Regions from separate parts of the Homo sapiens genome. Here regions 1, 3, 4, 5, 6 and 7 are each linked to region 2. The links are contacts of gene promoters, found by promoter capture Hi-C in blood cells and fetal thymus (Javierre and others, 2016). All regions are on one chromosome and are shown on one strand. Each heading gives the region's core, a stretch centred on a gene start or on the middle of the fragment in contact. The rest is flanking DNA. Distances are from core to core; before and after follow the strand shown.

Region 1 (3,792 bases), core at 863-3,362, 1.9 Mb after region 2:
AAGTTTACACCCTGCTAGTAATACACCTGGATTTGTCAGGTGTATTTCTGATGTCTGCAGGAATTTCCCTAAAAACCCTGCATCACTTAGGTGTCTCTTGTGGAAAGAACCTAGGAAATCTATGAGGAAGCCATTCAAAAAAAGTTAACAAGAGCAAAGAGAAAGATATACAGAAAGGAGTGACCAAGGAGAGACTCAGGAGACCTGGTCTCTGATGACTGCCCACCTACTTTGTGGCCCCGTGGTTTTGGAAGAGTTACTTTCTTGAGGCAGCCTTTCCTCATGTTTAAGTAGGGATAATATCATTGGTCTTTCTCCCTCACAGGGTAGCTGTGAGGATCGACTTTTACATGTATGCTCATGCATGTAATGCATTTTTTATATATTGTGAAGAACAACAGATGTAAAACAAAATTTTTATTTGGCTTAGAAATACGAGTACCATGACTACAGTTAGTTAGCAAAGGTTAGAAAAGAGCAGAGTTTCTAAAGAAATGATCTTTGGGCTGAGCATATTGGCTCACACCTGTAAACCTAGCACTTTGGGAGGTAGAGGTGGGAGAATACCTTGAGCTCAGGAGTTGGAGACCAGCCTGGGCCACATAGCAAGACCCTGTCTCTAAAAAAGGTAACAATTAAAATAAAAAAAAAAAAGAAATGCTCTTTGGATAACTCCATTTTAGGGCAGATTGATAGGAATATATTCATAAATATTTAAAAAGACAAAGATAAAAACTTGAACAGAGGTACTTATGTGTGTCTTTTTTTTTAATTGAAGTGAAATTTACATGATGAAATGCATAGAGTTTAAGTGTACTATTTGAAAAGTAAATTCTCTAAATGTATACACTTGTGTAACCACTACCCCAATCAATGTAATATTTTCATTACCCTAAAAAGTTGTGTCTTAACTCTTAACGGGCAATCTGCAGCCCGCCTCACCTCCCCAGACAACTCTTGTTTTAATTTCTGGCCCCATAGTTTTAATTTTACTTGTTCATCAACTTCATGTAAATGGAGTCATACAGTATTTGTCTGGTTTCTTTTGCTCAAATAATGTTTTTGAGATTCATCCATGCTGTTGATGTGTATCAGTAGTTCCTTTTATCCCTTAGTATTGCACTGTATAAATATATCATACTTTACCCCTTCTGCTGTTGATGGGGGTTTAGGTTGTTTCCAGTTTGGGGCTACTATGAGTAAAGCTGTGAACATTCTTGTAGAGTATTTTTGTGAATATTTTTTATTTCTATAAATACCTGGGAATAAAATCACAGGGTTATAGTCCAGAAGTATGTTTAACTTTATAAAAAAACTGCCAGACTTTTTCCAAAGTGATTTTACATTCCTGTCAGCAATGTGTGAAGATTCCAGTTGCTCCAGATCTTTGTCGACATTTGCTATTGTCGGTCCTTGTAATTTTAGTCATTCTAGTTTGGGAGAAAATGTACCTTGTTGTTTTAATTTGTATTTCCATGTTGACTACTGTTGAGCACCATTTCATATCATCATTCCCATTCAGACACCTATGCGAGGTGTCTGTTCGAATCTTTAGCGCAACTAAATTACAGTTTTAGCCCAAATTAATGTTCTTATTGGGATGTTTGTCTTATTATTGAGTTGTAAGAATTCCTTTTATATTCCCTATACAAATCCTTTGTCAGATATTGTGAATATTTTCTCCCACTCTTTGGTTTGCCTTCTCTATTTTAATTGAGTATTTTGATGAGCAGACATTTTAAATTTTGATGAAGTCCAATTTATCAAATTTATCTTTTATGTTTAGTGCTTTTAAAAGAGGCCTCTCTGAGAAGTCTCTGCCTACTTCAGGCTTAGGAAAAATCTTTGTTTTCTCCTAGAAGCTTTAGGATTTTAACTTTTACATTTAGTTGTATGAGGAAGTATTTATTTTAATGCAGTAACAGGAATATCATAAGCATTGGCTTTAAATCTGAATTTTCCAGAAGGCTACCTACCTGAAGAAAAACAAAAAATAATTGCTTCATATTAAAATAATTTTTTCTTCTTATTGTGAAACAACAATCATAGCTATAATAAGATAATGATGTTTCATTCTTTTCTCTCAGGACTTTAATTTTTGGAAGTGAATAAAACTTGTTTTAGAAGACGAGATGACTACAGCTGTAGAGAGAAAGTATATTAATATTAGGAAAAGGCTGGATCAGCTGGGATACCGCCAGACTCTGACAGTGGAGTGTTTACCTTTGGTAGAAAAACTTTTCAGGTAAAGACAAAAATACAGTTTTCAACCTTTATGATCCCTAACCACTTACCTCATTTCTGATTGAACTTCATGCTTTGGTAAAGAAAAGGGTAGCTTTCCGGAAAGGCTTTCAATCATGAAGCTTATCTGTTTTTTCCCTGTCCTCAATCCAGGCCTTCCACACGGCAGAACTCTAAAGGCCACCACTCACGCTGTACTGTTCAAAGTCAACATTTCTGGGGGTTTTCTCTGTGAATGGAATTACAGTTTTTTGGGTTTCTGATATAATTGAGAGACACTTTTCCCTTAAGTTCTTTTTTTTTCCCCCCCTTAAGTTCTATGTCTGCTTCACTGGTCTTCAAATACAGTCATGGATAGTTTCATGACAGGGATACGTTCTGAGAAACATGTCATCATTAGGTGATTTTTTCGTTGTACCAACATCATAGGGTGTGCTTACACAAACCTAGATGGTGTCGCCTACCACAAACCTAGGCTATATGGTCTGTATCCTATGGCTCCTAGGCTACAAACCTGTATAGCATGTTACTATACTGAATACTGTAGGTAATTGTTAACACAGTGGTGCCTATTTGTATATCTGAACATATCTAAACATAGAAAAGGTATTGTGTTGTGCTACAGTGTTACAATGGCCAGATCTCATGAGGCAATAGGAATTTTTCAGCTGCCCCCATTATAAATCTTACAGGACTACTCTCCTTCCTATATGTGGTCTGTCGTTGACCAAAATGTCATCATGTGGTGCATGACTGTATTTTAAGCCTCTTTAGAAATATGTTTTTAGTTATTAGAAAGTTAATGAAATATTTCCTGGTATTTAAATTTTCTGTTCTTTTAGCGACTTAGTTCATACAACTGAGAGCCTTCGGCAATCAAAATTATCTGCTGTGAAAGCTGAAAAAGAAAGTGCCAATTTTGATTTTGTTTTGGAACCCTATAAACTTGAAAATGCAAGATTGAGTAGAGAAAATAATGAATTATACCTAGAGTTAATGAAACTGAGAGAACATTCAGACCAACACGTTAAAGGTAAGTGAAAATTTGATAATTTTTAAAATGCAATGTCTTTGTCCTTTTTATTTTAGAAGGAAAAGCTAACGTCTAATTTTAAAACTATTGATTAGAAAATATAGTAGTCCTACAGCTGGATGGTGTGTGCCTATAGTCCCAGCTACTCGGGAGTTTAAGGTGGGAGGATTGCTTGAGCCCAGGAGTTTGAGACCAGCCTAGGCAACATAGTGAGAACTTGTTTCAAAAAAAAAGAAAAGAAAAGAAAATATGGTACTCCTTCTGCTAATAGCCCCTGAAATACTATAGGGTATGTTGAAGAGTTCCTGAGAAGGAAAATAAATGTGCATTATATAGCTATGATAATCACTATATGTGGATTAAATTTTTAGAATTAAAAATTTAATTAAAATTTTAGAATTAAAATTGCCATAGGGAATATTAAATGCTGGATTTGAAGAAATGTTCTTGAAACAACTTTTGTTTTTCCCTTACTGAAAATAAAAGTAGTAAATAAGGTGAAAACCATGTATCAT
Region 2 (3,570 bases), core at 184-2,683:
AAGACTATTCCAGACATTCTCAGACTTGCTGGCTCTTTTGTTTCACTGAAAAGGTGAAGAAGTACAGAGATACCTGACAAGTATGGAAGTCTGATCTATTATTTGAACAAGAGATCTAAAATGAGAGAGTATCAATGTAATACATCAAGTGGTACAAAACTGTGGACTTCATAGTGAAACATTACAAAACTTCCTGCTTCCGGACAGCTCATTATTTGGTTCAAGGCTTCACATTCCTTTGTCATGGTCTTTCCGAAAGCTTTCATTCCTTATTAATATCAGACTTTTAATGTTACTAGTGGGACTTTCCAAATTAACAAGCCCCAAGTTCGTGCCCCAAGGAGGAGCTTCAGGACTACAATTTTCCCTCAGTAACCTGAGCAGAGTGTATGTCCCTCACGTAGTTGTTGTTGTTGTTGTTGTAAACATATTTCTTTCTGTATATCTTAAATTTGTGTTCAACTATATATTTTTATCACGTACAATTACAAGAACTTGCATTAGTTCTGCGGAAATTAGTGGAAAAACTGGGAGACCTGTGGGTATGTGTGAAATAGACACGAAACGGAGCTTCGCTGCCAATTGTCACTGGGGTCTCACACGGCCCAGATCTGGCCTCTGAGCCATGTCACTGGGTGCAAAGGCACAGACAACCACAGGGTAACTGGGCGAGAAAACAAGGAGGCTCCCTGTCAATACACGTACTTCCACCCTGAAGAGGAAGGGTGGCCCGCAGGGCAGACCCTAATGAAAACCCGTGCCTACTGGGATCGTCACATCGCCCGGGCCTGTAGGGCCTGCTAAAGGGGTGTGTGGAGGAGGAAGGACAGCGTCCGTCCCCACTTCGGAGACCCAAACAAATGAAAATAAGCCAAGTTCTCACTTCCTGGTTGCCTACTCTTTCGGAAGGCCCCCGACACCAGACGGACACAGGGGAAACGGGGCTCCCGTGGAGTAACGGGGCCCACCCCAGCCCGCACCTCCCGCCCTCGCCCTCCTCCGGGCCTTACACGGTGACGTGACCGGAGCCGCGGACGACCACCGGGTCCGGCGAGTACTTGAGCAGCTGCTCCTCCAGGGCCCGCTCCTCGTCCTCCTCTTCCTCATAGATTTCGTCGAAATCCGCCATCCTGAGCCTCCGAGCTCCCCTGCCCAAAGGGCCTGACTCCCGGGGTTGGCGCCGGGGTACCGGCGGGCGAGGCGGCGGAGGCTGAGGGGAGTCGCCGCTGCCGCCGGCTCCGAGGCCGCGGAGTTCGCTGTCGGCTGTCTCGGCTCCGGCTACAGAGGGGATGGGGTCTGGACCGTCGCCGCCACCGCCGCCGCCATTACCATCAGCAATAACAACAACACAATGTCAACATCCGCCCAGAGGCCGACACCTCCACAAGCACAGACGCCGCTGCCGCCGCCGCAGCAGCAGCAACTCAGGAAACCACAGCAACAGCCCGAGCCACCCGCAGCGGGAGCAGCCGGCTACGGCATCGCGAGACTTCCCGGGCCAACGGGCGGGCGGGCGCGTGCGTGGGCGCGTGGGCGAGCGGACTGGCTGGCGGGCGGGCGGGCGCGCGCACGTGCGGCCTCGCGCGCTCCCAGGCCACCGTCTTTCCTCTGCTTCTACCCGCAGACGGCGACCGGGGCGCGCGCTCCCGCCGGCGGGCCCCCCTCCGCCGACTTCTGGGTGGCGGACCCTGGGGGCGGCGGCTCCGCTGACTGGAGGCCGCGACCCGCGACTCCGACAACGCAGCTTGGAATGTCCAGTGGGACATGCAGTTCCCCAAAGTCATCTCTAACCAAAACAAACAACTGAAAAGAAAAGCCCTGGCTGGAATAGACACATTTTTGTGCGTGTCATTGCCAGTTTATCTAATAATCGCATCTCGCTTTTCCTCAGGTTTTGAGTCTATGATGAGAACCAGAGTCTCTTTTTTCCCAATTTGAGGAGTCCAGCAGAGACACTGCAAACATTTGTGCTCACCACAGGATTTTTCAAGACATCTCCAAATTCAAACATCTTATCCCTTGATCCCCTTAAGTATAATCCAATATATGAGGCCAGCGATGCTGGTATTTTTTTTTTTTTCTTACAAGAAATCTCACCGTAGTCATGCTATGAAAAAAAACTGATAAATTACCTGGATTCCATATTAGAAGATGCAGTTTCTTGCCCCAACTCTCTCACCAAACATAACCTGGTTTTTGTTGTTGTTTCCTTAAAATCTTAGGGAATTCCTTTCCTTTTCTTACCAGTTCCTACCACAAAAAAGACCTGAAAGAAAGGGCAGAGGAGAGGAAGAAAAGGAGGCAGGAAGGAAGAAAGGATAGAAGGAAGGACGAGAAGAATGAAAGAAGAATGGGAGAGAAAGAAAGAAGGGGAGGAAGGAAGGAAAAGGTTTAATGGAGTCTACTTAGCTGCCTAGTAACAGTTGAACGGTCACTTTGGGTACTTGGTTTCATTAAGCATATAAACAGCACAGGGGAAGGAGTGGGCTTCTGAGAAGAGAGTCCTGGACAGTGAGGATACACCATGGGAGAAGAAAGGATAGTTCTACTGAGCCCAGCGCTGGTCAGGCTCTTCAAGTGCAGTGTTCATGTCACAGTAGTCGGCTTTAGATGGGTCACTGTTGACGTGGAGAAAGTGCAAAGGAGGTCAATGAGGACAGTGAGAGATGCCAACCTCCTTTTGGAAACAACTGAAGGAAATGAGTGTGGTTAGCCAAGAAAAAATGAAGGAAAAATACAGTAGTTGTATCAGACTTATTGTATCCCTCCCTGGAGGGTATTTGTTCATTCAACAAATATCTACTGAACTCTAGCTATGTGGCAGGCACTGTGGACGTGTGTGAATGAGGCACAGGCCCTGACTTCTGGTAGCTTATCTATTGTTAAGGCAAGCAATTGTCATCTCTGCCAGGGGCTCATGGAGGAGGACACAGGAAGTGTCAGTGGGGCACACAGGAGGCAGCTTGGTCTGGTGTTTAACAATGTGTGTTCTGGAACCTGACTACCTGGCCTTGAATGTCAGCTCTGCCACTTACTGTGTGACCCTAGACAAGCCACTTAACTTCCCTGTTCAGTACCTGCCCCATTGGGATGCTCAGCAGATTCAAGGGCTTAAGATCGGTGAAGTGCCTAGAAGAAGGCCCAGTACACAATAAATACGGGGTAATAGGTGATGCTTAAGGCTCCCTAGCTTATCAACCCTGTGAGGGTTACCACAGCATTATGTAATATTTTACTGCTTATAAAGCACGTACATAATATATCATTTAATATTCCCCCAAGAACCTGTGAGGTAAGCAAAGAGGGTGTATTTATTTTCAGATATGCTATGTTTCAGAGATGCTATGATATGCTATATTTCAGAGATGCTATGTGGCTTTCTCAAGGCCATGTGACGATTTAAGATTTAATGGTCTAATTGAGTATACTGGTGGTCCAAGCTTTCCTGAATGTCTTTTTTTTTTTTTTTTTTAAGACAGAGTCTCACTCTCTCACCTAGGCTGGTGTGCAGTGGCACCATCATAGCTCACTGCAGCCTTGAACTCCTCAGCTCAAGCGATCCTCCCTCCT
Region 3 (3,602 bases), core at 495-2,994, 1.5 Mb after region 2:
GAGGCAAAATGGCAAAGCAGATGATCATTCAAGATGATTCCGTTTTCAAGGCTGAAAAGAACATATTTGCAAATGCACAGAAAAAGATCTACAAGATCATACAGTGGTGTTAACAGTGTTACCCTTCAGTCAAGGGTATACGAGTAGCTGTGCTCCCTAGATTCCTCTGGGGAGGAATGTGAGCTAGAAGTGGATGTAAAGGGGTTGTCACTTATTATATATACACTGTATTAACTTTTTATGAGCATCAATTTACTTCTGTAATTTTAAAAATAAGAGTCCCAGCTACTCGGGAGGCTGAGGCAGGAGAATCTCTTGAACCTGGGAGCCGGAGGTTGCAGTGAGCCAAGATCGTGCCACTGCACTCCGGCCTGGTGACAGAGCAAGACTCCGTCTCCAAAAAAAAAAAAAATTGAAATGTAATTCCATTTTTAAAAAAGATTGAACGGACCCACATGGAATTCAAATGAAAAATAAGTGACACTTTGCAGAAGTCTATTAGAAAAACCTACATATCAAACAGAAATAATATAAGTATCCTATCCTACAAAATAAAAAGGAATACTGGTAATATTACAAAAATGCCCACAGCAACTGCAATCCATTACTCACTATTCACTACTTTCATTACACAATATTAGTCACCAGGGGGAGTTTGAGGGTCCCCTCCCAAAATTATATCTCATCTAACAGCTGCCTGTGCAGTCTTAACCTCATTAAACAGGTTTTCAACAATCCAGTCCTAAAAAAATGTTCATTTTGTACACTTTCATGAGAAACAACCAGACACACACACACACACACACACACACACACACACCCCAATTTACCTTTCACTGGGGTTCATGTTTGATTTCCTCAAAAGAAAGAAAAGTTTCCCAACCTGAAAAGCAAACTAACCTAGACAATCAAGTTTACTAGCACTTTAAGGGAATGTTCACATCCTCCTCATAATTGTTTGTCATGAAACTTTGGGGTTAAGTAAAATTTTACCCATCTATGACTCCTGAAAAAAAGAGGAGGGGGAAACACAAACTACACTCTGAAAGCAGCATAATCCAGCCATAATGCCAAATGTAAACAGTCATATATTTTAGCAAGGCAAGATATAACTAAACATCTTTAAAAGATAAATGCCTGTGACCTCTGCAATCTTAAAAATTAAAGTGTAAATAGTCATAAAAGGTATCCCAAACTTCCTTTTTAGTTGATTTTCCTAAAAAATATGAAAAGCAATCATATTGAAAATGACTCAAATCACCATAAATTAGGCAACAAAAATCACACAAATTATTTGGGGGAGGAGGATTTTTGTTTAATCCAGTTTATGAGTCCATAATACACACAAAAATTTGAAAACATGAAGACATACACATAATACATCTCATTTCCCACCATTCCCTCAGACTATTTCTCCCTCTCCTCTATTGTTAGTTTTCTAAATCCTCCCATAATTTCTTTATATAAAGAGCAAACATAAACTTGTATTATTACACCTCGCCCTTAAGATGTAACACACTATTCACAAAGTACCGCTACACCTTGCTTTTTTCACTTCATAGCAAATTTTTGCAATCTTTGCATGTTAGTACGTAGAAAGCTTCCTTATTCTTTTTTCATAACTGATTACGCCTAGCTTTAGAACATTTTCAGTCTGCTTTCTTCAGGCTAACTTTTTTTTTTTTTACTTTTTTTATTATTATACTTTAAGTTCTAGGGTACATGTGCACAACGTGCAGGTTTGTCACATATGTATAAATGTGCCACGCTGGTGTGCTGCACCCATTAACTCGTCGTTTACATTAGGTATTTCTCCTAATGCTACAGGCTAACCTTTCAAGACATTCTGTTCAGCCAACCACTTATCACAGGAATTAATTTCCTTCCCCCAAGCTTTGAAAACCAATCAGATTTGAGGTGTCCCAAGGGATAAGTTTCAGAGAAAGCAATTCATTATCTAAATTACATCCTTTTAAGAATGTTTATTTTCAAACAGGTAGAGGGGAATATTGCACAATTTTCTCTAATCGCTTAAAGCTACAAATCAGAACGCAATCTTCAAAGTGAAATTACCTTTGATTTGGGGGGATCAGCGTTATAGTCAAATCAACGACTGTAAAAGTTTACTTCTTGTGCTTTTCTTCCACTGTAAAAATTTTTTTATTTTTTAAAGAAGGCTAAAAAGCCTTAAAGTCTAATAGCACGGCATTCTAATAGCAGGAAACCACAATCTGATTTGATCTTTCATCTGCCAGGTCAGAGACTAGGCTTTTATCTTGCAGAATTAGGCTCACCTACCATCAACAAGAGGACCTCTACAAAGCTACAAACACTTTCAAAGAATATAAACTCTGCGGCGCTGCGTGTAGGAAATTACACTCCAGGGGCCAGAGCGCCAGAGCCAACTCCAGAAAACCCAGCTTCACTGGCGGAAAGAAATCTACAAACGCCAGCGGCGGTGACGGGGAACGGGAAGCGCGGGTGGACGGAAGAAGAGAAACCGAGCGCCTCGCCGCCAACCCTCGAACCCGCGCGCGGTCGCTGGAGTCAGACGCTAATAGCCGCGCGCTGCCTAGGAACGGAACCCCGGAACCACCACCACTAACGGAACCAGCCCGCGGCCGGCAACGGCGGCCGTTCGGACTGCGGACTGCGGCACGCGGGCCGGGCGCCGGGAGGGCGGGGGTTCCCCGGAGGAGCTGGCCGCCCCGGCGCCCCATTGGGCGCTGCTCCAAACGTGCCCGAGTGGTGACAGGAATAAAGTGGGTCACAAGGCCTAGCGGGTCCCCAGCGAAAGCTCTCTCGGCACCCGGTCCCCGTCTTTCCCCGCCTCCCAGCTGCTGGAATCGGCCGCAGCTCCGGGCGCCCTCAAGCCGCCCGGCCCCGCCGTGCACCCCACTCCCGCCCCTGCCCCGCAGGTAACCCCAGCTGCCCCAGAGGGCCTCTCAGGCAGGGCGGGCCTCGGCCCGAAGTCCCGGGAAAAGACACACTAGAACGACACGCCAAACTTGGGCTTCAGCTCCCGCCTTCCCCACCCTTGGCCGCCGCCCCCCGGCCCCACACACGCCGCCCCCCGCTCCCTCCCCTTCCCCGCGCCCTCACCGTGTGGCTTGCGGCGGCTCCGGCTTCTTCCCTCCCCCACCCAGGTCTCCCGCTGCGGTGACTCGGAACCACTACCCCGCCTGTGTCCAGGAGGCGCCGCGGCTCCCACCTCCAGCAGCACCTGGGGCTGTGAGTGGCGCCCCCCACCCACCCCCCCAAAAATTCGCCGCTCCTGTGGCCAGCTCCTCCTCCCCCTCCCTTCCCTTCCCCTCCTCCACCAGCCCAGGAGCGCGCATGCGCCGCCAAGGAAGCCAACCGGCACTCGGCAGGCCCTGGGCCCACCGGGCGGGCGCCTCTCACCGGGAGCGCTCGCGGCGGCGGCGGCCAGATTTCCTTCGCGCTCTCGCTCTCCGGGGTTTCCTTTTTTAAACCGGCAGCCGCAAGCCGAGTCCGTGATTGCGCCCCCTCCCGGCGCATGCGTCGTCAGCGACCCCGCGGGCTCAGACGGCCGGCGGAGGCTCTGCGCTCGCCCCTCCCCTCACTCTCCCTTTCCCCAGCGC
Region 4 (3,640 bases), core at 1,004-3,503, 1.4 Mb before region 2:
CAAGATCGGGTTGTTTGAAAGTGTGTGGCACTTTCCCTTTCTCTCTTGCTCTCTCCTGCTCCACCATGGTAAGATGTGCCTGCTTTCCCTACACCTTCTGCCATGATTTTAAGTTTCCTGAAGCCTCCCAGTCATGCTTCCTGTTAAGCCTTTGGAACTGTGAGTCAATTAAACCTCTTTTCTTCATAAATTACCCAGTCTCAGGTAGTTCTTTATAGCACTGTGAGAATGGACTAATATAGGCCTGCTCTGTAAATTTTATTAATAGGGTGATTTCATCCTCCCATCTTCTCATCCAAGCTCAAGGTCTTCATCAGTGAAAATCACAACACCTGCATTCCCACCTTACAGCATGGGGAGCACTGCAGGAGTCAACATGCCTCAATGCACTTGTGCGGCAACCCGGCCCTCGGGAACCAGTCCCTCCTGGGTCAGTATTGCACCATCAGAGATATTTTCCACTAATGTAACAAAACCATCCTGAAATGTGCTGATTATGAAATGTAAAATATAAAATTCTGGGCTCTCTCCTCCCATCCTCAAATAGAGTAGCAATGGGAGAAAAAACATGAGTAAGTTGTTCTTTACAGCAATGTTATTTACTCAAAACTCTCTGTGGTGAGCTACATCCAGAAACTAAAAACATGGAGATAAAATGAATGGATAGAGTAATTTTGTATCTGTCAAGTTTAGTAACAAAAAAATTAAGGCTTGCATTTTATTTCTCTTTGGGTTTTTTTAATTCCATTTTGCTAGTTATTCCTTTTTATTGTATTTTACAAATATATTGGTCTGAGACAGATTGAAAATAACAATAAAACTGGTCCTTCCCTACAGACTCTGAAAATAATTACCAACAGCAAGGTATTTAAATAAAATTGAGTTTATTTTCCTAAATATGTGAATAGCTGCTGAAGCTCACTTCTAATAAGAGAAATGCAAACTACAAATATACTAAGACACCATCTTTCCCCTGACTGGCAAAGATCAAAAGGTTTCTGGGTAGCACACTGCTTTGGCAAGGCTGCAGGCAGCCAGAGTCACACATATTGCTGATGGAGGGCAATTTGGCAAAATCCATCCCAGTTACAAATGCAAATCCATTTTTAGGAAGTCGGTCCACAGATATACTCCCACATATGGACAAAGTTGTTCCTTACAGCCTTGTTTGTAAAAACCGAAGACTAGAAAACTACCTACAACATGTCCTGCTAGTCAGTGAGGGCCTGGTTCAGTGAATTCAGTAGACTCAAGCAAGTGAATACTCTGCAGCCATAAAAAAAGAATGAGGTGGCTCTTCCCACAGACCCTCCTACAAGACACAAACAGCAAGGGGCAGATCAGGACAGATCAGGGTATACTCTATGTACTCTTTGTGTTTTTAAAAACTAAGAGAGAAATATAAACACAGTTGCTTGTATATGCATATAACTCTAAATGGAAGCATAAGAAACTATAACTATTGATAGATGCCAGAGATAAGAATTGGACACTGGGTCTATTTTCAACATACAACCTTGTGCACATTTTGAAATTTCTGCCACATAAACTCATAGTACCTATTCAGACACTTTACTTAAAAATTTAGAAAAGAAACTGCGCTTAGCTACTTCATGTATTTCTCAGTTAGGAAGGCTGTGTGTGCCAAATGACACAAAAGAGTGTGGTATAAGCTCATTCAAAGACAACATATCTTTTACTACAGAATGTGCTCTCATTCTCAGGAAAAGGAAAAACATTGTATCTTGACTAGTGACAACAAAAGCTTGGCCACACACCACCAGCATGTGTCTTCCAATGGCATTTTTGTCAGAAATCATAGCTTCTTCCTCCTTTTGTCCTGCAGCCCTTCCCTAGTTCTCCTTGACTGAAAACCATAGCTGGTTTATAACACACATGCTCGTCTTCTTGCCACTGCTCACCAGCAGGAGTGGTTCTTATTTTATAGACCCAGAGAGGCCTCAGTGACCTGCCCAACACCGCTAAAGCTGGAAAGCAATCAGAGCCTGGGATTTCTGAGTCCTAGCTCAGGGCTCTGTCTACTACAGTGTTTGGTGGACTCTTTCACTAATGGAAATAAGAAGGGCACTGGAAGAAAGTGGTAATGCAATGCCCAGGCAACAGGCTAAGCACTAGACATCAATCTCTCTGCTTAAGCCCCACAATGACCCAGGAAGGTAAGTTCTCTCATCACCCACAGGCTATGGATAAGAAGCATGTCTTTACAAGGGTAGAGAACATCAAGCTCTCATACCCAATCAACAGTGGTGTAGAAAGTCCAACCATATCTCAGCCATGTGCTCACTTGCCTCCCAAGGAAGCTCACCGACCAGACCATCATCTACAAAGTAGTTCAACAAATGGTGCTCCTCCAAGAGCCGATTATTTGAGCCACTACAAAAAACCTCTTATCTGAGCCAATGTCACCCAAACTATGGGCCATGAATCCTGGAGGGAGGGGAGTTACTCTTAGGTGGCACCAGTATGAACAGTTTTAAGTGTAGCAATAATGTTTTTGAAAAGGATTAGAAAAGCATAAAATTAGCTCATCAAACCCATCATTTTGCAGATGTTTCAGAATAAGGTCAAATTAGGGTGAACAGATTTAAGGAAAACTAAGTAAATAAGTTCAAGTGATACACAGATGTAGCAAAAACCATGAACAATGATGACAAACTGACATTTGAGTATCACTGACCTAAGCAACTGGATCCATCCCACAGTTTTTCTCTAGAGTAAGAAAAGCTTGGAAATAATAGGTTATCCACCCCTACACTGCCAACCATACAATATGCATTCGTTCTGAATGTTATTTTTTATTTATTTATTTGTATTTGCCTTCTCTCCATTACTACATTACCCTCTGATTCATGAGGCAGGGAAACCCAGTTCCTGAAGCATACTGAAACTCTGCATTTAAATAGGAGTGTCCTATGGTAGCTTAACCTTAGAGGGACCTACCTCTAGTTTGCCCTGAATAGCTCAGATTACACCTACAGATCAATTAATATTTTATAATTACTCTGAGCATTCTTTTCTCTTTGAAAAGTATCTGACTTGGGAACCCAATTAGACAGTTTCCTGTTGTCCTGTCATCCACTACAGCAATGATTAGAAGAGTCCTGTGGGCCTCTCTCTACCCGTGTCTCCCAATACCACAGAAACAGGGCCACAGGGCCCCCTCACCACCACAGCACCCAGTCAGAACCAAACCATGCTGTGAATTTGGCCTCTGCTTTTGCCAACTTCCTTCCCCAATGTCACTCCTCCCAAAGTGCCCCACTAAATGTGGACAGCAGGTCAAAATGGAAGTAGAATTTCACTGGATCCTGAAATACCAACAGCTTTGCACTTTGAGCAAACAGAAGGAAAATAATGATGAACTAAAAGAGTGAGAATAATTATGAAAACTAACAAGCATGAAGGCATCATAGCTCACACAGTGCTTCCATGGGCAGGATCTCTTCTGATGCTCCCCAAAAAGCTTTAAAGAAGGTATTTCATTGACTACCTTTGTTGTAAAAAGATAAATAGGATCTGAGATTTACCAAACAGGATTCTGAATTCCAAACTCCTCCACTTTACAACTATATGGAAAATAGAAGTTGTTTTGTTTTTCCCAAAGCCTTGCTGCTCTAAA
Region 5 (3,458 bases), core at 109-2,608, 1.8 Mb after region 2:
TTCATGTTGCTTCTTAAGTCTACTTCATGCAGTAGGCTGTGATGACATAAAGATATTCATTGAGAGACTACCATGGTATACCACGTGTCCTAGGACTAGACAATTTGTTCCTCAGTTTTCTGGTTTTAAAATGAGGATAATAAAGATTCCTTCCTCACAGGGTAGTTGTGATGATTAAGTTAATTAATACATGTAAAATGCTTAGAATAGTACATAGCACATAATAAGTGCTATGTAATTGTTAGATATTATTCTGAGTTCCAGGAATCAGAGATACATCACTGAAAAAAACAGATAAAAATCTTTGCTTTCATAAAACTTCATTCTAGAGAAACAGCAAATGAACAAACAACATATACAATATGTCAAAATGTAGCAAGAACCATGAAGAACAAAAGTAAAAAAGGAAGATAAAAAATACTGGGAGGAGGGTGGTTGGGGAACTATTTTACATAGGGTTCTCTTGGAAGGCCTCAGTGAGGTAACATTTGAGCAAAGACTTGGAAGCAACATGGTAGTAAGCCATGCAGACTGAGGCATGAGAATTGCTTGAACCCAGGAGGTAGGAGGTTGCAGTGAGCTGAGATCATGTAAGTGTACTCCAGCCTGGGTGACAGAGCGAGACTCTGTCTCAAAAAAAAAAAAATTAGTATTTGCTAGATTGCAATAATTGGTTCTTCAGGAGTTGAGTGGGGAATGCTGCCACCAGGATAAACACTATGGAATTCATTGCACTTCAAACTTTTACTTAGTTACCTTGTGCTTCTTACGGAAGTGGACAAGCTGGCAAAGAAAGGAGTTACTATGCTCGTGGGAGTAATCAACTGTGATTAGCAAAAGGATCTAGGATTGTTGCTCCACAATAGCACTAGGGAGGAATTTGGAATCCAAATAATTCGCTGGGGCTTACTAGGTGTTTCTGTACCCAGGGATAATTTGAACAGGTAATTACAGCAATCATGGCTTAACCAGAGAAAGGAAAATAAAGGCTGAAGGTGGGGGCTATTTCACCAGAGAAACAACTTAGACCAGCTGATGTGCTGGTCAATGGTGAGGGAAAATTAGAATGGGTAGTGGAAGAGGGAGTTAATACAAGTATGGTCCTGACATTGATGCAGCAGTAAAAACTGAAGCTTATTCTATTAACTCTCTTATATTAAGGCTTTGCTGAGATTGTGGCTGGCCATCACCTTGAAGAGACCTCTGTGAAGGACTGAACATAACAGAGCACACAGGCAGATCAGAGTGCTGCAAGATATGGACACCTTCTATGTCCTTCTGTGCAACTTAGGCCATGACTTCAAATCCCTTCAGCCTATTATTCTAACCACTGCTGCAGCAACCTGCTCGGAGCAGGTTTGATGACCTTTGAACAAGTGCGAAATACCAGCACCTCTCCTCTCACTTCCTGCCCCAGCATGTCTCTGATGTGGGAGTCAGCTTGGCATTCACAACTGTGCGATTTGTAAGTGTGAAGTAGTTAATGCCCAAGGGCATTAACCTTCGATCAAAGAGGACAGGAGCCGACATACAAATGCTTCCTCCGTTCTTTCCTTTAATGGACAGTTCTGAGACTCATTTCATAAAGCTTCTTAGAAGGTCCTAAGGGACTAAGAAAACATTCAAATATGGTGATGACCAACTCAGTAACACATTCTTATACTGCATCTCCCTTTTTGTTTTGTCTTCTTCCTCTTCCCTCATTTTGCTCCCTGGGATCAAATTTCCAAATAAACTATTGCATATAAGTGTCACTTTGCAGGGAATCCAAGAGGAGAGAGGATAATTTAATTTTTGGACACACAAGTTTGAGGTGTCTATAAGACATCCAAGTGGAAATGTCAGGCGATGGGCAGTATATACACAAATCTTGAGGTTCAAGAAAGAGATCTAGGCTTCTGAAATGCAATTCATTTCCCAACTTTGAGGAGGGCTATAAACATACAGGTAAATAAAAGAAAGATAATAGGACCAAAAAACACATGCAATTGTCATAGAGTGTCCACAGTAAGCATTCCGGTGCCAAGCAGGAAAGGGTCTTTGTAAAGATATAACCAGATCCTGCTCTTAAAAGGGAAGTCATTTGATGAAAGTGAAAAGTATTCTAACTACTGTTTGCTCATTTAAATTTCTAGCACATTTATCTGATCTGTACCTCTCTTTGGTCACTTATTTTGTGTCCTATTTTATATATATTTGTACCTACACCTTGTCTAGTCCTACCACACTGTGAACTCCTTTAGGTTAAGATTCATGCCTGAATCACCTCTGTACCTGGAATCAAAGTGCCTAGCATTAAAAAAAAAAGGTGCCAGGAATATTGAATAAATAAAACACCTACCTGCAACCAGCAACATTGGCATCATTTATGCATCCCAAACTTAAATATGCATAAGCATCATCTTGCTAAGATGCAGATTCTGATTCAGTAGATCTGAAGTGAGCCAGAGAGGCTGCATTTCCTAAAAAGCCCCCAGATGATACCCAAGCAGCTGATCCACGGACCACACTTTGAGTATCAAGGTCATGAGGACAATGGTTCTTGACCTTAGCTGCATATGAGAATCATCTGGGAAGATATTAAAAGTACTGATGTCTGGGTCCCACCCGCAGGGATTCTGATTTAACTCATTTAAGCTCTCCAAAGTTTAAGTAGCAAAGATCTAGAGTTAATAGAGCTTTACGTATGAAAAAAGAAAACATTTAATCGAATTTCTTCTTAAATGAATTGCTGCAAATATCTGAATAAATAACTCTTAATCCCCAACTCCCAAGTCAGTTTCTGTGCCACAAAGGCCCCGCCCCTGCCCTTCCCTGACACGCCCCTCCAATGAGGCCTTGTTCCGCCTGGCCACGCCCGTCGGTTGGCGCCCCGCCCCTCCGCGTCTATTGGCCGCTCCCTTTTTCTCCCATCGCTGCTTCTTCCTTCTCTACGCGGTCAACTTCCGGCGCGGAGTTTGTCACGTGCCCGGATATAGGAAGTGTTGGGGGAACGGCCGCTTCCCGTTCAACGCTTTATTGAGGGGCGTATCCTAGTGGCCCCCATCCGGTCTCCGTTTTGGAAGACCCGCCTCGGCACAGCCAGGCTCAGTCCGGCCTTGCGGTAAGCCTTCGGCCGCGGCTGCCCGGTAGTCCCGGCGGCGGCGGACAGACGAGCTGACAGGCACCAGGGTCTAAGGCGGCTCCTCAGTCCGGCTGCTGTCTCCACGCCTGGGGTCGGGCACCGCTCCTTCTGACCTTCCTTTCCCCGTTTGTCCCGGTAAGACGAAGTTTGGTCAGAGCATTCTCCAGTCCCTTGTCCTCGGGTCTAGGAGAATGCGGAGCTGGGAGGGCAGTCCTCACGGGCCCCATTACGGTTCCGCCCATCGGAACCAGATTTTGTTTGTGCAAAATGACCCTGATCGTAAGCTCTTTGGCGTGGTCCAGGAGAGGAGAGCGTGACTGTGCCTTCCTCTTTG
Region 6 (3,813 bases), core at 1-2,500, 1.2 Mb before region 2:
TCATTCATTCATTCATTTACAAATACCCATTAAGTGCTAGCATGTGCTGTGTGTTAAGCACTCTAGGTTCTGGGGATAGAGCAGTGAGCAAAACAAAATCTCTACCCTTACAGAGCTTACACTCTAGTGTGGAGAGTTGGACAATAAACAGCCCACCAAATAATGCAGCATGTCAAATGGCGAAAAATACAAGCTTGAACCAAGCCTCCAGGCAGCGCTGGGCCTGCATGTGAACTGGAGAGAAAGGATGGAGGAAGAGAGAGGGAGGTCGGTCATTACTTCAAAGGGCTCTCCTTATGGGTCGAACTATTTCATAGTGGTGGGGGAAGAGCTGCTAAGGGTCGTATTGCTTCACTGGTTTGCTGAGAAACTTCTGGAGCCTGCGCTGGACAGGACTACAGTCTGGATATTGTTCTCTACAAGGTTGTGGGGCTTGGCAGGCAAGGCTGCTGTCTTCTGCCCTAAAATCACAGTAGGTCTGAAGTTGATAACACAGTGTGCAAGCTTGTCCAAGAGGAATCATTCCATCTCTTGCCTGGGGATAGAGAGCAGAGGAATGCCTTGGCTCTTGGCTGTACTGTGTATTTTGGCAAATGAATATAAGAAAGGCTTCAGCGTGGTCTTTCTGCCTATCTCCTCATCTAAGTCCAGGTAATGAGGAATTTGGGAGAAGATTTGACAAGTTTATGAAAGTGCTACCTCCCAACCACTAATTAAAGGACAATCCAGGCTGGAAAAAGAGCTCTTTGTTTCACTTTCATTATGAACATATCAAAGTATTAAACTTTTATAATTTACCAGGCTATTTTATATGACAAATTTTGTTGGGCATTCAACATATTGTACGGCACAAAACCTGTTGTAGTTTACTTGTCATTGAGCTGAATATATTTCCCAGTTAGCATGGGGGTACACATACTTTGCAAAACAATATTTTGTTGTTGTTGTTTTTTGCTTTTAGAGTTAGTTAAAATCATCTCAAATGACACTAGAGCTTTTCTATCTTGCAACACTTTGGAGCAGATAGCTTTACATTCCAGCTGAATTAATAATAATTAATTATGGACTTCACACAACATTCTCAGCAGAGATGTCCCAGCATACCAGCCTTCACACTACTGATGCTTGGAATGTGCAGTTCCTCTATCAGTTACAATCTGCTGTGCACAACTTCTATTTTGGGCCTAAGTTGTTTCTTTATATAGAAACCAGTACCCTTGTCAAATCAAGTGAGTGCATGAGTCATTTGTGCATTTCCTAAAAACCATCACATCAAATTTTCCTCATCTGTTATCCATTTTCTTTTTTAATTAGAAGGAAAAAGCATTAACAATGCATATATCTTGGTGAAAATCCTAAGTGTTCACAGACTACTGTTACAGTAAAAATGTTTCTTGGCCAGGCACGGTAGCTCACGCCTGTAATCCCAGCACTTTGGGAGGCTGAGGCAGGTGGATCACCTGAGGTCAGGAGTTCAAGACCAGCCTGGCCAACACGGTGAAACCCTGTCTCTACTAAAAAATACAAAAATTAGCCGGGCGTGATGGCACTTGCCTGTAGTCCCAGCTACTCGGGAGGCTGAGTCAGGAGAATTGCTTGAACTCAGGAGGCGGAGGTTGCAGCGAGCCAAGATCACACCATTGCACTCCAGCCTGGGTGACACAGCAAGGCTTCATCTCAAAAAAAAAAGAAAAGTTCCTTGGTGGTGACTGAATTTCATACTTGTTTAAGAGATGATCAGTCTCCATTTGCATTTTCATCAACTATGTAACTTAAATACCTCTGCTAACTTGGGGCTCAACTTCGATCGTTCATACTGTGACTTGTGATATTTTAGACACTATTGAATGGCTGGAGACGGTGTCACTAATTAGAGTTTAGAAAGTATTTGATGGTTACCCTGATTTTTGAGCCCGATAAAGCAATGAGAACCAGTGTGGCCCCAGACAAGACTTAAATTCTCACTTTCCAGGTGACTTGAGGTATGGGGGGATATGAAGCTTGTTCTTTCCCCATATCATGGATGGATATTTTTGAAAAGCTTTGATTTCCTTTAGGTCTTAGTACATTATGCTAAGGAGCTGATGCTTTGGGGAGAGGATACTGCCTTCTATGCGAAGACAAACAAGGACGCCTAAAATGTCCTTAGGTAGCCCTTTCTGCACTCTAGGGGCAGTTAGAGGCAAATATGAGGTATGTCTAATCTACTTAAGAATTTGAACCCAAAGAGGTCTGTTAAACAATTGGCCCATTCGTCTGAATCTTTCTGAACTTTTCCTGCTTGTGCATATCTTCTGATCACAAAATCTTGTCAAGTATCCCAAGAGTACTCGGTCCTGTGAGGCCAAGGCCAATGCTCATTTCTTTTGCTCTTTTATCTTCTGAACAAATAACGAGTTAGAAGGAGAAGAGGCAGAGGGATATTCTTGTAAGATTCTTCCCACTGGAGAAGAGAATGATCCCAAAGAACATTGCCACTGTCTATTTGCAATATTATTAGACCTTACATTTAACTGAGGGAACTTCTATCAATGGCTTTATTAATAATGTAGTAATGTCCGTTTGTAGGGTCATTCAATGTTCCAAAGGCTTTGTGAAAATGGGCACTGAGACTTTTCCTATTTCCAATTAAAACAGTGGATATTTACCAGTTGTTTCATGGACTATTTAATATTTGAATTTATTCTGACCTATTGTCATGAGATTGCTTATCAAATAGGTGTTCTATGTTCCCATAAAAATGACTGAGGCTATTAAGATTCAAATCATTGAGAGGAGAAGAAAATCTCAGATTTTAACTTAAATGAAAAAGAACTAATTTAACCTTTTATTTTATCTTTCTTTAATATATTACATTGAAATAGAGAAAGAGGGTGGAAGAAGCCTTCCAGAATAAGGAAGATAAAATCTTACTGAATAGCAGGGGAATATAATACTAGTTCTTCTTTCCTCCCTGGTGTGGAAAGGGGGACATGTGGGCCGTTTTGCTGCCATGGAAACCAACCAAGGTATGTGGGAGGGGGAGGGAAGGCCCCTTTGAGGCCCATCCTCCCCTTCTTGGAACTTAAATATCTTTCTTACTTTTCTCAGAGTTAAAGTGTTCTAGTCAGGAGGTGATCTTCCCAATGGCAAGAGGGGTGTGTGTGTGTGTGTGTGTGTGTGTGTGTGTGTGTGTGTATTTTATTTGAGTTCCAATTTGCCTTCTTTCCTACTTTACCTTTTAAATCTAGTGATTCTGGCTGTCTTTAGTCTAGACTTACCCAGAAGGAAAGTTGACAGTTAAAAACAAAACAATCGTTGAGCATATATTGGGTATCAGCACAGCCTTCTGTTGTGGGGATGCACGGACTGCAAGATATCTAACACATCACATAGAGTCACTAGATACAAACTCTCTGTTATGCTAAGTTATATCTGTCCTGTTCCTATTTCCATACTCAGAGATCTCTTAGAAAATAAGCAGCTCAAAATGAATTTCCTCTCCTCTTTAATTCAGAGGATGTTTCTGAGCCACAGTTCTCTTTAATTTTTAAAACTGAATATTAAAAACTGTCATCCCCAACACAGATGCAGAAGCCTCTCCTCCTGGGTTTGCTATTTCTTTACAATCCTATGTCACAGGCATCCACCTTTCCTCTTCTTCCTTCCCAGTCCTTTCTAAGCTGCAGTGGAAGGCGAAGGAGCAATGAACCAGGTATTTGGAAAGCTGGTGAGCATGCCAGTCTGTTTTTCTGGAAGGATGTTATAGGAGAGAAGAGATCAGCTTGGTAGAAATGTGCTGCTGTGGATGGTAGGAAGTTCCCGTCACAGGAA
Region 7 (3,274 bases), core at 334-2,833, 1.3 Mb before region 2:
TCGGTATTCCCATTTAAGTGTTAATTTCGTCCCAAAACACTTCTACAGAAACACTCAGAATACTGTTTAATCAAATATCTAGGTGCTCTGTAGCCCAGTAAAGTTGACACAAAAATTAAGCATCACACTGTGATTCAGGGAAGGTGTTTGGAAAGAGGGAGTGGCCAACCATTAAGACTGGCACTGCACGATGTGTTAAGAAGTTTATAGACCATTTATTTGGCAAAAGGGTTTTTTGAATATCTTTGTAGAAATTATTAGGAAGACAGAAGGTATGAAAGGGCAGAGTATTTCCTTAAGATACATTTCCTGTGAAATTACTCTGCCAATGAAAATGAAATTTTAAATATCCTATTATACATGGTACATTTGCTTCAACCTTTCTGAAGGATAGTTTAATACAGAAAAAAAACTCATTAAAAAAGGCAACTAGGTTTAACATACATAAACTATATATGTATATATTTACACATCTGTTTAATTTGAGGATGTAAAATACTATTACTTTTTAAAGCTTTTTACTCTGAATTATATATTTAAAAAAAAACAGTGCAGAGAGATTCCACGTAGCCTTCACCCAAATTCTCCCAAGTGGAAGTCACTATAGCACAAAAACAAAACTAGAAAATTGACATTGAGCTGTGTGTGCCAATATTACATCATTCTGTGTCATTTTGTCATGTGTAAATTCATGGAACCATCACAACTCAGATATAGAATTATTATGTCACCACAAAGATCTCACTCAAAAAGTGTTATGTCCTAAGGCTTTCGTTTGGAAAACAGAAAAAAAAATCATCCACATTTCCTCCCAAACAATTATTTTTATTGCATATATTCCCTCACAGTTGTAATTACTGTATATCATAATATTTTCTTAACAGCAAATGCACATTTTCTTCACCTTTGACTTTGTACACCTCTAGGTTTTGAAAGCAAATCGACCCATGCTGCAGGATTATCACAGGGTTGTTGCCACCCCTGAAATATTCCTTGTGGTAGTACTGATTGCTGGTTAAGATGGCTACATTTAAATACTCATCTTCTGAAGCTTTCTGTGGAGAAATTAAAAAACATATATCTTGTATAAAGTCATAGATAACAATCAAAAGAATAAAAAGTATTTGTTCTTCAGTAGTCCATCTGTGTAACTATCATTAGAATTGTATGAGGAGCCTAGCCCAATTACTTTTCATGATTTAAGTGAATTTAGCATTTTCTTGTTGCTTGTACTTTGTATGTAGATTCTCTAGATGCCAATAATGATGGGTTAACTTTTAAAGAAGTGAATATATATACACATATGTGTATATACCTATATATAAATTGAGGAGACGATTTAACTTTTGAAAACGATGTCTTGACTGAATACTGCAAAGCCAAAGACAAAAAAGCAAACGCTGTATTCTAATTGGTTACTTTGTTTCTCATAAAGGGACAGGTTAGCAATTATGTAACTATGTTATGTAACTAGTTTACACATATAGTAGAGTTTAACAAATAAGCAAATAAATCTTAGCTAATAGGAGACAGGTTTCTCAGCAACAGAAAAGTTACAAATAAGCAAGGGGTAAGGTGAGGCTAGAATGAATCCTGTGGTGCTGAGAGTTGGAGATATCAGTATAAACTCGTTTATTTCAATAAACTGTAGGTATATATGTATAGGTATCTGTGTATACATACAAACATTTCCTAGCTGTGTCCACTGAGGGGGCCTACACAGTGATAACCTAGTAGCAGTAGCAATGAGCACATCTTGTGCCCAGATCTTGGTTTCTAAAACCATTTTTCAGTACAGGGAACAATGGTTTCTTGGGAAAAAAAAATCACTGATTCTAGGGCTGGGCAGGAAAAATAAAAGATGAGCTTGCAGCATATTGGAGCGCTGGAGAGTAAGGAAGTGCTGAAAAAAAAAAAATAAGGCCAAACAAACAAAAAACACATAGGGAGAGGCATGTCAAAAGGAAACAGGAACAAATTTTCCAAGAGCTCTCAAAGGCCAAAGCTGCAACACTTTGAGCAACAGTATGATAGTACTGGATTACAACCCAAAGAACAATGTATATATCCATGAGTCCACACTGATAAAAAATATTGGATAACAATTTTCCTTAAGTAAGCTTCTAATTAATAAATGTATCAGGAAATAGGAAGGTGAAACATCTGGTGAACCTTTGAGCTGGCTAATAAATGTTTTTGCCAACCAACCTATTTTGTGTTCCTTCTGATGCATAACAATGGAAAGAGGATTTTTTTCCCCTATGAGTTTTGAAAATCAGAAATACCTTTGTGTCCATCACCAGTAATGTTGAAACTATTTTCTATAACTTGTCATGCCCTACAAACCTTACTTTAATCAAATATTGTGCAGCTTAACACACCTCATAATCAGTCATGCTATTTGATGAAACTTTATCCTTTTAATAAGACATTTTCTAACATTCCAATGACTGCCCCTTTATTTCATATTTCCTCTTCACTTTGTATTCGTACTTGACATTGTGAAATGAGGACCAGGCCAGGTGCGGTGGCTCACACCTGTAATCCCAGCACTTTGGGAGGCCAAGGCGGGCGGATCACCTGAGGTTGGGAGTTCGAGACCAGCCTGACCAGCATGGAGAAACCCTGTCTGTACTAAAAATACAAAAAATTAGGTGGGCATGGTGGTGCGTGCCTGTAATCCCTGCTACTCAGGAGGCTGAGGCAGGAGGATCACTTGAACCCAGCAGGCAGAGGTTGCGATGAGCTGAGATTGTGCCACTGCACTCCAGCCTGGGCAACATGAGTGAAACTCCGTCAAAAAAAAAGGAAAGAAAGAAAGAAGGAATGAGAGAAAGAGAGAAAGAGAGAGAGAAAGAAAGAAAGTAAGGAAAGAAAGAAAGAGAGAGAGAGAGAAAGAAAGGAAAGGAAAGGAAAGAAAGAAAGAAAGAAAGAAAGAAAGAAAGAAAGAAAGAAAGAAAGAAAGAAAGAAAGAAAACCAAGTACCACAAATACCCAATACTGAAAGTTGCATTTCTTTTAATGGCTTCTCTAGTTTCAATGCATATTGCATAACAAACACAGGAAGTCCTATATCTTTCAGCTCAAGGAGGCTTTCTCTTGTGTCCTATATTGCTGAAAGTTTTTATTACCTTCTTTTGTGTGTGTGTGTGTGTGTGTTTTGTGCTTTTTGGGGTTTTTTTTTGAAACAGAGTTTCGCTCTTGTTGCCTAGGCTGGAGTGCAATGGCATGATCTTGGCTCACCACAATCTCCGCCTAGTGGGTTCAAGTGATT

Evidence for each region. Contacts are between HindIII fragments. The CHiCAGO score rates a contact against its expected background, and 5 or more counts as called.
Region 1: a contact is called between a fragment that was not itself captured here and the fragment with the promoter of CHIC2 in region 2, in 3 of 17 cell types (non-activated CD4 T cells, naive CD8 T cells and total CD8 T cells). The highest score is 7.5, in non-activated CD4 T cells.
Region 3: a fragment that was not itself captured here is called in contact with the fragment with the promoter of CHIC2 in region 2 in 1 of 17 cell types (fetal thymus); the score reaches 5.3 in fetal thymus.
Region 4: a fragment that was not itself captured here is called in contact with the fragment with the promoter of CHIC2 in region 2 in 1 of 17 cell types (total B cells); the score reaches 6.1 in total B cells.
Region 5: a fragment that was not itself captured here is called in contact with the fragment with the promoter of CHIC2 in region 2 in 3 of 17 cell types (total CD8 T cells, naive CD8 T cells and total CD4 T cells); the score reaches 12.6 in total CD8 T cells.
Region 6: a contact is called between a fragment that was not itself captured here and the fragment with the promoter of CHIC2 in region 2, in 1 of 17 cell types (fetal thymus). The highest score is 5.2, in fetal thymus.
Region 7: a fragment that was not itself captured here is called in contact with the fragment with the promoter of CHIC2 in region 2 in 1 of 17 cell types (naive CD8 T cells); the score reaches 5.0 in naive CD8 T cells.

The regions. Positions count from the first base shown.
Region 1 is chr4:55,949,999-55,953,790 of GRCh38, forward strand. CEP135 (centrosomal protein 135) reads left to right here. Exons shown (of 26, transcript NM_025009.5): 2 at 2,088-2,245; 3 at 3,087-3,277. The coding sequence starts at 2,133. It overlaps LOC124900705 (a long non-coding RNA gene), which reads right to left. Exons shown (of 3, transcript XR_007058124.1): 3 at 2,393-2,473. Among named protein-coding and RNA genes, the nearest start is that of CEP135, 3.0 kb to the left of the region's middle. The HindIII fragment of the contact is 504 bases long and covers 1,861-2,364 here.
Region 2 is chr4:54,063,172-54,066,741 of GRCh38, forward strand. It overlaps CHIC2 (cysteine rich hydrophobic domain 2), which reads right to left and starts at 1,434. Exons shown (of 6, transcript NM_012110.4): 1 at 1,011-1,434. The coding sequence starts at 1,129. RefSeq lists enhancers at 842-1,342, 3,339-3,570 and silencers at 1,142-1,271, 1,502-1,741. The HindIII fragment of the contact is 3,181 bases long and covers 258-3,438 here.
Region 3 is chr4:55,543,380-55,546,981 of GRCh38, forward strand. CLOCK (clock circadian regulator) reads right to left here and starts at 3,530. Exons shown (of 23, transcript NM_004898.4): 1 at 3,403-3,530. LOC124900704 (a long non-coding RNA gene) reads left to right here and starts at 2,486. Exons shown (of 2, transcript XR_007058122.1): 1 at 2,486-3,231. RefSeq lists silencers at 2,526-3,155, 3,276-3,375, 3,436-3,602. The HindIII fragment of the contact is 293 bases long and covers 1,599-1,891 here.
Region 4 is chr4:52,645,873-52,649,512 of GRCh38, forward strand. All of the region lies in intron 1 of USP46 (ubiquitin specific peptidase 46), which reads right to left. Among named protein-coding and RNA genes, the nearest start is that of USP46, 12 kb to the right of the region's middle. The HindIII fragment of the contact is 980 bases long and covers 1,764-2,743 here.
Region 5 is chr4:55,850,695-55,854,152 of GRCh38, forward strand. EXOC1 (exocyst complex component 1) reads left to right here and starts at 2,954. Exons shown (of 19, transcript NM_001024924.2): 1 at 2,954-3,259. RefSeq lists a silencer at 2,746-2,845. The HindIII fragment of the contact is 455 bases long and covers 1,132-1,586 here.
Region 6 is chr4:52,852,383-52,856,195 of GRCh38, forward strand. No RefSeq gene overlaps it. Among named protein-coding and RNA genes, the nearest start is that of RASL11B, 8.0 kb to the right of the region's middle. The HindIII fragment of the contact is 1,496 bases long and covers 503-1,998 here.
Region 7 is chr4:52,738,243-52,741,516 of GRCh38, forward strand. No RefSeq gene overlaps it. Among named protein-coding and RNA genes, the nearest start is that of ERVMER34-1, 12 kb to the right of the region's middle. The HindIII fragment of the contact is 1,069 bases long and covers 1,050-2,118 here.